2 separate regions of the Homo sapiens genome follow, and region 2 is linked to region 1. The links are contacts of gene promoters, found by promoter capture Hi-C in human tissues and cell types (Jung and others, 2019). All regions are on one chromosome and are shown on one strand. Each heading gives the region's core, a stretch centred on a gene start or on the middle of the fragment in contact. The rest is flanking DNA. Distances are from core to core; before and after follow the strand shown. Region 1 holds the start of OTOG (otogelin). Region 2 overlaps ABCC8 (ATP binding cassette subfamily C member 8).

Region 1 (5,961 bases), core at 1,129-3,628:
GGGACTACAGGCGCCCGCCACCACGCCCGGCTAATTTTTTTTTTTTGTATTTTTAGTAGAGACGGGGTTTCACCGTGTTCGCCAGGAAGGTCTCGATCTCCTGACCTCGTGATCTGCCCACCTCGGCCTCCCAAAGTGCTGGGATTACAGGCGCGGGCCACCGCGCCCGGCCTTCTCTGGATACTCTTGTCGAGGTTCATGGCCCTCCTGGACTGTCAGCCCTTGCTACGCCCTCACCTCCAGCGTACCTTCAGTCCTGGCTTCCTCCTGCACTTTTCCACCAGGGAGAAATCAATCCTTGTTCTGTGAATTCCTTGGGGACAGGGCTGGGTTTTACTGTGGGCCGCAGGGGTCTGAATCAGTGTGTGTGAGAGTGCCCCCCTCAACTGATTTCCCCTCCCACCTTCCCTAACACCTCCACCCCCAACAAAACAAGACAAAACAAAACCCAAACCCAACACACTCACATATCCATCGAAGCCTGGCAGAGCCTGGCAGTGACATTTTGATCTATGGCTGACCTTCACCCAGGGCCCAGACCCTCTGGTTCATTTAATTCAATTTGGTCAGCATTTGCTTAACTCCTAGGTCTAGTGCTTGGTGCAAAGACAATGATGAACCAGGCCTGGAAAGGAATGAAAGGAAAGATTCATCAAAGACAATGATGAACCAGGCCTGGAAAGAGATGAAAGGAAAGAGGGGCTAGGAGAGGGGTGATAAAAATGTGTAAATCAGAGGCTAAGTATGGGGCTTGTGCCTGAACTTAACCCAGGGAGGCACCTGAGCCCTTTGTGCCCTGTCAAGGGCAGGGGCAAGGAGATGGACAGCAGCTTACATCAGGTAACCACTTACAATTGTAACTCTGGGGCACCTAAACACCCCTCTGCGTCCCTCTCCCCAATAGCTGAAGTTTTACAAGCACACTATTTTTGTTGCCTAGTTTAAGATGTAAATCCCTCTTGGAGAAGAACCTTAAAATATGATCTGTTTTCTCACCTTAGCATTAACTATTAAGTCAGCGATAAAATGGAAAGACTTGTGGGATTTTTGAATGGTCCAGAAAAGGCCACACAAAATGCATTCCCCTCCGACTTACTTCATTGATTCTCTACATTGGAAAAGAATGTCATATGGCTGTTTATTTTGTATTTAGAATCCTGGCAGAGGTGAATGAATGTCCTTATCCAGGGGAATGCTGTTCACCTGCCACACCAATCCTTATTTTACATTGGCCATTACCCCCACAGACTCCCTCCACCTTAAAATGCCCCCTGCTTTGTTTTGAGAATAGCATTGAGACCTGGTTCTCCTCTCTCATGAATTTTTGTTTCAAGCTTCCTTGGAGACAATCAGTCTTTGCCTGTTCCTTAACCAGCATTCCTTAAGGCTCCATCCTTAGCTCTTTCCTCTTCATCTTCCTATCTGTGCCCCCAGCTTCCTCCTGTGTGAAGATAGCTGTGTTTGCTTTATTTACCACTATATGCCTAGAACAGTGCATGGCATGGAATCAATGCCAAACAAATTTGTTGAGTGAATGAATGAATGAATGAATGAATGAATGCATCTCAAATCTATACCCTTGCCTAGAAGTCTACTGGGGCCAATACCACCACGACCACCACCACCACCATCATCATCATCCTCTGTAAGACCTAGCATCTAGTTGGTGTTCCCTAAGTGATGACGAAGTGAATGATGTACAGATTCCCCAGGTGCTCAGTCCCATGTTTTTGCCATTTTAAAATTCCTCCTGGGCAGACAGTGGACCTCGTTCACACATATAAAGTTGTTTTGTCAAAGTTTGGCCTTGATGGTGGCAATAACATAGGAGTATGAAACACTTTTATTATTCAATCGTCATTTCCTGAGCTCGGGCAGGAGCTGGTGCTGGGCATTCAGAGGACTAAGGCATGATCCATTCCCTAGAGGTGCTCAAAACTGGTCATAGGATACGGATGTGGAGACCCAGGTGGAAGCTGAGGTGGGGCATGGTGAGAACATAGGCTAGGACTCTGCAGGCTCTGTTATTGACCACTGATCCCTGAGTGGCATGTCCCAGGGCCTCAGCATGGCCCTCTGTAAAAGGAGAGGATAGGGCCAGACTCATACCTGCATCTTGCGTCTCTGGTATTGGGCTTCCAGGACCCAGGTAAGGGGAGCTGGAGGTTGCATAGGCTGCCTCTATGCTTCCCTAGACAATTTAGGGCTGAGTAATCTGAATCCAGCCTCCCCTGGGGAGGTGTGGCCACAGGCCAAGAAAAGCAGAGGCTAGGCTATGGACAGGCGCCTAAATTATGGTAATAAGCTGGGTACTCCTGTCACTCTAGTTCGGGGAGGAGCTGAGAGCCTGGGAGGAGGGGCTGAGGGAGCCCTGGGGCATGAGAACAAGAGGGACCTCGGCTGCGGAGTGGAGGTGTGACCCTGCCTTAGCCCGGGGAGGCACCTCGGGAGGCTGGCCCTGCGCTCAAGTCCTCCGGTCCCCTCGTGTCCCTATGGGAGTCCTGGCGTCTGCGCTCTGCTGGCTGCTTTGTGTCTGGCTGCCCTGGGGTGAGCAGGCAGCCGAGTCCCTGCGGGTGCAGCGCCTCGGTGAGAGGGTTGTGGACTCAGGGAGGTCGGGGGCTCGAGGAATGAGAAACGTTAAAGGAATGAGGAATGGGCCCGCGCAGGTTGGAGAGAGGGAGGAAAGAGAGGTTTGAGGGAGAGCAGAGGGACACCCAGGAGGAGCAGTCAGGGGAGGAGGGACCCCGAAGCCAACAGAGGCAGGCCTATGACCGCGGGGGAAAGAGTCCAAAGTTAGGCTGGGTGGAAGAGACCCGAGGTGGGGAACTAGAGAGAGCTGGGGGCCAAAGACTGAGAGTAAACAGGGAGATCCTGGCTGGAGAAGGGTCATCAGGAAGGGAGAGAAAGGATTTGAGAAGGCTGCAGGGAGGGAGAATGGGGGAATGCTCAGTGGCGTGGGAGAGGCTTTCTAGCAGTGGGGGCCAGGTGGTGGGAGGCCCCAGTAAAGACAAGCACAATTTGAGTGGAGAATAATCCCCCTCCCCAGCCGCAGCACCCGTTCTGTGGGGCAGTGCAGAGCCACAGCCAGAGCCAGCCGGGCAACCCAGGTGAGTAGGTGTGAGCTGTGGCGGCCCCACCCACAGCTCCCATCCGTATTTCTGGCATCAGCGACCCCAGGGCTTTAGCACTTAGGGTGGGATAGGCCAGGGGACTGCGGGGAGGCATAACCCATCCTAGCCCCCCATCCATGCCAGACTCGTGTTTCCTCCAGCAGCAGCCACCAGGAGGCGACCCTTGCCATGGGGGACAAGGCTACAGTCGTGGGAGGCCAGGTAAGGGAGGTCTTGGGAGGGGGCTTCATTGAGCAGGAGCTCATGTCTATCTGGATCTGAGGCTGGCAGGGAGCTCTGTAGGTTACAGGAGGGGTCTCTGGAGTTGTTCAGAAAGGAACAAGCAGATTCCTGGTATGTGTCTGAGGTGTGCAAGTTCATAAAACCCTTCTATTCTTTTTAATCTCTTGGGGGTCTATAGTCCACTCTTTTTTTTTTTTTTTTTTTTTTTTTTTTTTTTTTTTTTAGGAGAGGTGGGCACCAGGGCTCTTTCAGGAGAGAGCTGAGCTCTCCCTTCTGGCAGGTAAAAGTAGAAAGATGGACGTTTAGAAGAATGGAGTTCTCTTTTCCCTGACTGGCCTGCGAAGGCCCTCAACCCTGTCAGAGGCTCCTCTCCATACCCTGAGCGGAGCCTCAAGAATGCAGGCAAGACAAAAACTAGGCCACCTGGTGGAAGTTGCAAGGAAGGTTTGGTTGAGAAGCAGAGCCCTGAACTCATCCTTTGAGCCTTTTTTTTTCTTTTTTTGAGTCGGGGTCTTGCTCTGTGACACAGGCTGGAGTGCAGTCGCATAATCATAGTTCACTGCAGCCTCAACTTCCTGGGCTCAAGTGATCCTGGTGCCTCCGTTACCTGAGTAGCTAGGACTATAGGTGTGTGCCACCATGCCTGGTTGAATTTCAATTTTTTTGGTAGAGACAGAGTCTCACTATGTTGCCCAGGCTGGTCTTGAACTCCTGGCCTCAAGTGATCCTTCTGTGTCAGCCTCCCAAAGTGCTGGGATTAGGCATGAGCCACTGAGCCCGGCCTCTATCCTTTGAGTCTTGACCATTCCACTGCCCATCTTCCCACGGTCCTCTGTGTTTGTGGGAGAGGTGGCAGTTTTGTTTTCTCCCTTTGCCAAACTTCTTTGGTCTCTGGATCAGGTGACTCAGGTCTACTTTCTAATCCTGGCCCGCATTTGTCTCCCTCTTTCTATAACTACAGATGAGCTATAAGTTCCACCCACCTGCAGCTAGGTCCCCCAAAGCAGCTGAGCCTCAGCTCAAGTGCCCCTGCCCCAGCCCCAGCGGTCAGCTCTGGGGAGCCCCTTGAGCCAGCAGATTGGGGAGAATCGTTTATGACAGCAATGAGTCCCAACTCCTGCCCTTTGGAAATAGACATGAAGACCCCAAGGTGGAGTGAGGGGGGATGGTGTGGGCGTGCTTCTTCTCTGATGTGGATTTCCTGGATCTTTTACTTCTTCTTTGCCCACACTTCCAGGCCCTAAGATTTAGAATCACAGTCAAATACTGCTTGAGTTGGAAGGTATTGGAGTCATTTTTTTGTAGGTAGGGAAATTGAGGTGGGTGGATGACTTGTGGGGGCCCTGCAATGAGCAGGTGGAGCAAAGTCTACTGGCAGAGCCAGGCCGTGCATACAGGACTTCAGGAATCCCCATGTTTTAGTGGGGGAGATGACCCTTCTCCAAACACTTCATTTCCCTGTGGGTATCCTCCCGTGCTGGTTTCCAGGGTAGGCATCCCGCCTTTTCCTTGGGGAAGGGTCATAAGTGAGTGGACCAGGCAACCTGGGGAGGTTTCTCACGCTGCTCCTCAGAGCAACGAGGAATTAGAATGGCCTCCCTCTAAGGTGACAGGAGTTGGGGGGTGGGGGACTGAGGCTCATGTACCAGGGATACTTCAAGGGCTCCTGTTTGGAATGCCCTCTTCATGAAGTGGGGGTGTGCCCCAGACCAGTAGGCAACCAATCTTCATTTCAATGCTGTCCCGCTTCTACAGAGCTCAACCATTTTCTAGAGAATTGTTGTAGACAGGGGTCCATGGATGGGGGAAAATAAAAACACATTGTTATTTACAGAAACCTCAATCCAACTGAAATTCAGCATCCTTTTCAATTATTATTATAGTCTACAAACCACAAGAGTATTTGCAGTGTTTTTGACTGTCACCAATAGACATGACAGATATTTTCCTACCACTTATAGATGTTGCTGTCTCAAGATATCATTTATGTTCATCACTACTTCAAAATTTTGGCAGTGATAAGGCCCACTGCTAGATCTTTTATTTATTGAGTTATTAAAGAAGCACAAATATTACTAAATTACACATTTTTATAAAATATTTTCATAAAATGATATTGTGATATAAGTGATTTCCTTTGTAACCTTATCCTTTATTTTATGTTTTTAAAAACATTATTCTGAGAAGGTGTCCACATAGGGTCACTAAATTATCTAAGGGGTTCGTGGCATAAAAATGATTAAGAGCGCCTGATTGATTAGCCCCTGAAGACTAATCATTTGGACAAGATTTAAGAAATCCTTTAGAAAATGGCTTTGACTCTTTGCATCACAGGTTGTCTCATCCTCATGACTCATTTATCTCAGAGGCCACATCTGAAGTGGGAGTGAAGAGTGAGGACACGAAGACTGAGTTTAATTACAGCTCTCTGGTGGCTAAAGGATGCGAGTTGTTTCCTGTGACCCTGCCCTCTCCTATTTCCTGTGGTCTCTGAGGGCCCCATGAGATAGATTAGTACCCGGGTGGGAAACCTGACTCCTGGGGCTGGGGCTGGGTCGACTGGGTAAGGATTGCTCGGGAGAACCCAGGAACCAGGGGCCAAAGTAGG
Region 2 (5,961 bases), core at 1,761-4,260, 130 kb before region 1:
AAATCAAGGATGGAAATGAGCCTGATGAAATCCCCCTCCTGCTGAGGGTCAGGACTGAATGAAGATTCTGATGGGTATGTAGTCCCCAGTCCCCTCTTTTCCTGTTCTCTAATCTTCGTGGTCTCATTTCATTCTCTTAACCAAACTTCATATTCCCTAACCATCAGATGGCTGTAATTTACAATTTATAGACAAGCTGGTAACATGAGACATAGAAACCTAAAGCTTACAAATTCCAGCTCTGTGGCCACAGCCCAGATAAGCTTATCTCTGGAGTCTTCCTGATGTGACTACTTCCAGAGTAGCAGAGGTGGTTATTGATGCATCTGTGGCATTCCTGAGGACCCCAGCACACAGTAAGCTCTCCAGGCCCTAACTCAGTTTGCAACATGGTCTGCACTGCTCAATTAGCCCTCATAATGGACTGCCTTCCTCTCTGATCAGCTCCCGTGTAATTTGTTCATCCCCAGTGGAATTTTAAGGCAGGAAGAACATCTTTTTCAGCCCCCATGGTGCTTAGCACATGACAGAGCTATATAATGAATGGAGGCTGGTAACAGATATATTAATCATTTGGAAAGAAGAAAGGGCGGGGCTGGCTCTCATTGCTGACCTTCACTGTGCACTGTGAGAAGTTGTTTGCAAACAACTCATCATCTCATCCTTACAACCCTATAAACCCTATCCCCATTTTACACATGAGGATACTGAGACTCAGAGTTTGCAAATGTGACAGAGCTGGGAAGAGGGGAAGCTGGGGTGTGAATCCAAGTTCTTCTCTTTCCAGTGTAGCCCCAAGCCTCCTCCAGTGAGCCTCCCCAAACTTTGTATCTGTTTTAAGCTGAAAAGTAAAGAATGGTATGTCTGGCAGGCACCATCTCTCACTCATTGCTGTGGTCTTTACAAGAGTGCTGAGGGGATTCGATTCCTCCTCTGCCTGCACTCTAGGGAGGAAGCACACAGCTGAAAGCATGAGTCTTCCAGTTCCCCAACCGCATGTCCTTCCCTCCAGCCCACTAGGAGCTGGCATATGTGTGGCAACCTGAATCAGGGTGCAGAGGCTGCCTTCCAGGGGCTCACACTCTGGTAGGGCAAATCAGAAAGGTACCGAAGTCAGGAAGTTATAAGGGTCAAAAGAAAAGTAGGACAAAGTATCGGAGAACTTTTGGGGAAAAGTAAACACAAATGCATATGCAAATGCATAAAGAAAAACTGGAAGCTTCTGGGTGATGGGATATTAGGTGGTTTTTATCTTCTGTATGCTTGTGTATCTTTTCTAATGTAATGTGCATTCTTTTAGAATCAGAGAAAAAACATAATTTTTACAAGAAATTTGGAGGAGGAAGAAATCTGAGAAAATGAGTAGAGCCTCATAGAAGAAGTCATAGCTGAACTGAACCTTAAAGAGTGGGAAGGATTGAGACGGTGGAGGTGAAGGGAGGGAACTGCAGGTTAAAGGAAGAGGCAGCATATGATAACAGGTGCGAGAAGTAGGAAAAATATGGGCTCTGACATTTGAATCCCAGAGGCTTTTCCACTCATTGGCTGTGAAATCTGAGGCAAGCTCCTTTACTTGGAGGAGCCTCTGTTTCCTGATCTATAAAATGGGGGTGAAGGCACAAACCTCACAGTGACACTGGAGAATGTATTACAGCTCACAGCTGGTTAGGGGGCAGGTTGTAGGCTTGGAGAACTAGGAGGAATTGTCTTTTCAGCTCAGTGCTTGGCCCCAAAAGTACAGGCAGAGGGAGAATCAGATACCCCCAACACTCATTTAAGACCCCGGCAATAAATAAAAAGGGAAGAAGTGGAAACTGAGGTTCAAAGAGTGAGCTAGGATATACAGGGCTCCACAGCCCATTCATCCTGCCCAGACAGGCTTGTCGCTGTCCTGAAAGGTTACCTTTCACCCACAGCATCCTTTCCAATTGATGTCATTGGGTCCCATTGCCAAATCTCTGAGACAGGAAAGGTAGGGTTTTACTCATTGTCCAGACAGTGAGTCTGTCTCAGAGAGGTGAAGTAACCTGCTCAAGGTCACAGAGCTAGCAAGTGGCAGCATCAGGACTACAGCCAGGGGCCATCTGGTTCCCATGGCTGGACAGTCACTTCCTCAGAGCATCCCTTCTCCTGTCTGTCAGCTGTCTCACCACACCTGCCTCCTCCAGGAAACCCAGGGGCACTTGAGCCCCTGACTTCAGCTCCCCAAAGGCTCCAGGAATTGTACAGGCAGATGCGACCAGGGCCGTCCTGAGAGAAGCCTTTTTCTCTCTTCCTGGGGAATCAGGGCTCTTGGCAGGCAGCATCCACACCAACCACCACAGGCAACAGCATTGCAGCAGGGAGCTCCAGTGAGACTGCATGTGCAGCTCCTCACAGGGAAGTGGGAGCCTCTTCCCCACGCTGATCCTTTCCTCAGGGCCCTGGTTCCTGCTGACCCCCCGGGGGCATTTAAAGTCACTCTACTGTGGATATTAATGGCTCTATTCTTTATTTCCAGGGAAAGAATTTCACCCGAGTGTATCTGCTAATCTTGACTTTTTACCAAAACATTTTCCTCTTAAGGATTAAAGAGAGAGTTTGCAAATCCCAAGGTTGTCACAGTTCCTTGAAGCAGAGAGCCAGGGAGGGGCAAGTGATTCTTCCTAAAGTGAATGCTTGGGAACCACACAGTTCTCTCTGAGACCAGGAGCCAGGCTGCTGACGTGAGGGACAAGCTCGGGGCTGCATCTGCAGGACTTCAGCAGATGGACCCTTTGTGCCCACCCTGCAGCTCTGTCTGCACACCTCTGTCCATCCTGGGTGGGTGAGCTCCCCAAGGGCAGGTGCTAGGCCTTTTCCTTTGTAGCCTACACAGAACAGTGCACAAAATACACATCTGCATGGGGCACCTGGGGTACAACATGGAATAATCCCTCAAGGAGCTCAGAGTCATGGAGGAGACAGACGCATTAGCAAATAATTATAATACCATGTGAGGTATGCACTAACGGTATTTGCTCATTCCAAATATTGATGGAGAAGAGGGGTAGTGAAATACTGGGTTAGGAAACAGCTCGGACAAAGGCATGTGGAAAGGAGAGAGATGTCAAGATGCATTATAATGGCAGCCTCTTGAAGGTCTTAAGTTGTTCCTGGTTCATTCATTTAGCAAGTGAATTCGTTTAGCAAAAAGCACTACGGATACAGTGAGACAAACAAAATATGGTCCCTGTCCCCAGGGAGCTCACAAGAATCTTTCCCAGGAGACAGACTGGAGGACATTTAAAGAGGAACAGGTGAATTTTGTTCCTGGCAAAGAAGTACACTATTGAATAATAATATTTATAGGATATTTACTACATGCTAGGTTAATCCTCACATCAATCTCATGGGTAATAAGGGAAACTGGTAGAGAAAGCTTATGAAATTTTCCAAAGCACAGAGACCAAATGTGAACCCAGGCAGCTTGGCTGCAGAGCCTGTGTGTGCAGCCATACTGCTCACGTGGTCACTGGAGGAATAAACGAATAGTTGCACCAACAAAGCACCCATCTCCCCAGAGCATTCTCCATTCTACACCTCCTAATCCCCCAACTTCCTGCCTTGTGCCTCCTGGAACTCCTTCTGGCTGCCTGGTCACCAGGTCTTGGCCTGGGTATGGCTGAAAAGCATCTGAGCAGCAGCCTGGCATCACCCTCTCCTCTGGCTGCAGGCGTGCAGACTTGGGAATGCTTGCCAGGTCAGAGGCTGTTTTGCTTTTAGCTCACTTTGCAAGCACGTCTTCTCCCTGCAGACCTGGGGCTCAATGTCTGAGGTGTGGAGTTCCTGCCAGTAATGGAGGGGGACTCTCAACACACAGCCCCCACACTTAACTCAATGCCCAGGATAGGTGGGCCAGCCAGAGCAGTGCACATGTCTAGATTTTGAGAGACAAACAGCAGATGAAGCTAATTGAGTCGTATCTGCCTAGACTCCTTCTCCTAGCCACTATAAGGAGCTGCAGACTGACCTTCCTTCCTGGAGTCTGTCTGTCTTTTCTTTTTCTCTCTCCCCAGTCCATCATCCTTTGTCATAAGCATGATCCTTCTGCAGCATTTGGGCTAAAACTTACTTCCTAGAGGTAAGCACTGTATCCATAGTGCTTTTGCTAAATGAATTCATTTGCGAAATGAGTGAACCAAAAACAACTTAAGATCTTCAAGAGGCTGCCATTAGAATGCATCTTGACATCTCTCATTTCCCCATGCATTTGCCCAAGCTGTTTCCTAACCCAGTACCTACCTCTCTTCTTGATCAATACTTGGAATGAGTGAATATTAATGCACACCTCACACTGTGTTATGATTATTTGCTAATACCTCCCTTCCTACAGTCTGTCTGTCTTTTTCTCTGTTTCCCCAATCCATCATCCTTTATCACAAGCATGGTTCTTTTGCAACCTTTGGGTTAAATCTTACTTCTCAGACCTACTACATGGGATCTAAGCCAAGTTCACTTCTTCAGTCCCATCTTTCATAATGCACCCCATGCATCCAGTGTTCCAGGTGCACAGAACTATGTTCTTTAATATCAGCAAGGCTTTGCCCACACCATCACCCCTGCCTGGACCACCTCCCTTTCCCATCCCTGCCTTTTCTACTTGATGAAACCACACTCATCCTTCAAGGCTCAAATACCACATCCGCAGTGAGCCTCCTCTCCTTGACTGCAGAGTCAATTGTGGTTCCTCTGAGCTCTTCTAAGGCCCAGGTCTTCTCTCCCCTCTCTTAAAAGCGGGGCCGGCCAGGGGTGGTGGCTCATGCCTGTAATCCCAGCACTTTGGGAGGCTGAGGCGGGCGGATCATGAGGTCAGGAGTTCGAGATTACCCTGGCCAACATAGTGAAACCCCGTCTCTACTAAAAATACAAAAAATTAGCCGGCATGGTGGTGTACACCTGTAGTCCCAGCTACTTGGGAGGCTGAAGCAGGAGAATCGCTTGAACCTAGGAGGCAGAGCTTGTGAGGAGCTGAGATCGCACCACTGCACTCCAGCCTGGGCAACAGGGCGAGACTCCGTCTCAAAAAAAAAAAAAAAAAAAAAAAGCAGGGGCCACGTCTTAGTCACCTTTGCACTCCTGTTGCTGTCACAGGGTCTAGTATACACTAGGCGCTCAACTGGGTGAGTGAATACGTCACTGTGGACGCTGGAGAATGAGTTGACTTGGGAACAAATTCTCATGATTTCCCAGGGTTGGCTGCAAGCTAACAAATGCACTTCACTATGCTTGAAAGGGAAGCTGGACCAGGACCGGGCGAGAGAGCAAAGAGGATCCTGGAGAAATGAGACCCCTTCACTACCGCCCCTCTGCGAGCCTCGAACAGAGCTGGGAGCTGGGGCCTAGGCTACCTGTAAAGGAGAGTAAGTGTTGATAAGGACAGAGCTGTGAGGACCCACGTGGCAGTTCTGGGAGGAGGCAGGTGTGTGTGAGTCATGGCCACAGCGGCTGCTGGCCTTTGGACTGTCAGGCTAGCTATGCCTTCTTCATGAGGCTCTTGTGCCCCTTCTCTTTGAGCACATGGTGGCAAACCAATGCACTTGAGCACCTAGGTGCAAATCCCACTTCTGCCATTTAACAGCTGGGTGGCCTTGGACAACTTGCTTCACCTCAGTTTCCTAATCTGATAAATGAGGATATAATAATATCTACTGCACAGAGTTCGGTGCAGACTGACTGAGATGATGAGGTGCCTGCACAGTGCCTGGCCTATAATAAGTGCTTAGGCAGGAACAGAAAACCAACCACCACATGTGCTCACTATAAGTGGGAGTTGAACAATGAGAACACGTGGACACAGGGAGGGGAACATCACATACCGAGCCTGTCGGGGGGTGGGAGGCAAGAGGAGGGAGAGCATTAGGACAAATACCTAATACATGTGGGGCTTAAAAAGATGACAGGTTGATAGGTGCAGCAAAGCACCATGGCACATGTATAGCT

The links. Contacts are between HindIII fragments. The study calls those that stand out against the background at their distance.
Region 2: a fragment that was not itself captured here is called in contact with the fragment with the promoter of OTOG in region 1 in 2 of the 25 tissues and cell types used here (IMR-90 fibroblasts and thymus).

The regions. Positions count from the first base shown.
Region 1 is chr11:17,544,881-17,550,841 of GRCh38, forward strand. OTOG (otogelin) reads left to right here and starts at 2,379. Exons shown (of 56, transcript NM_001292063.2): 1 at 2,379-2,586; 2 at 3,047-3,107; 3 at 3,272-3,332. The coding sequence starts at 2,493. The HindIII fragment of the contact is 5,491 bases long and covers 1-5,221 here.
Region 2 is chr11:17,418,315-17,424,275 of GRCh38, forward strand. All of the region lies in intron 16 of ABCC8 (ATP binding cassette subfamily C member 8), which reads right to left. Among named protein-coding and RNA genes, the nearest start is that of KCNJ11, 33 kb to the left of the region's middle. The HindIII fragment of the contact is 4,539 bases long and covers 742-5,280 here.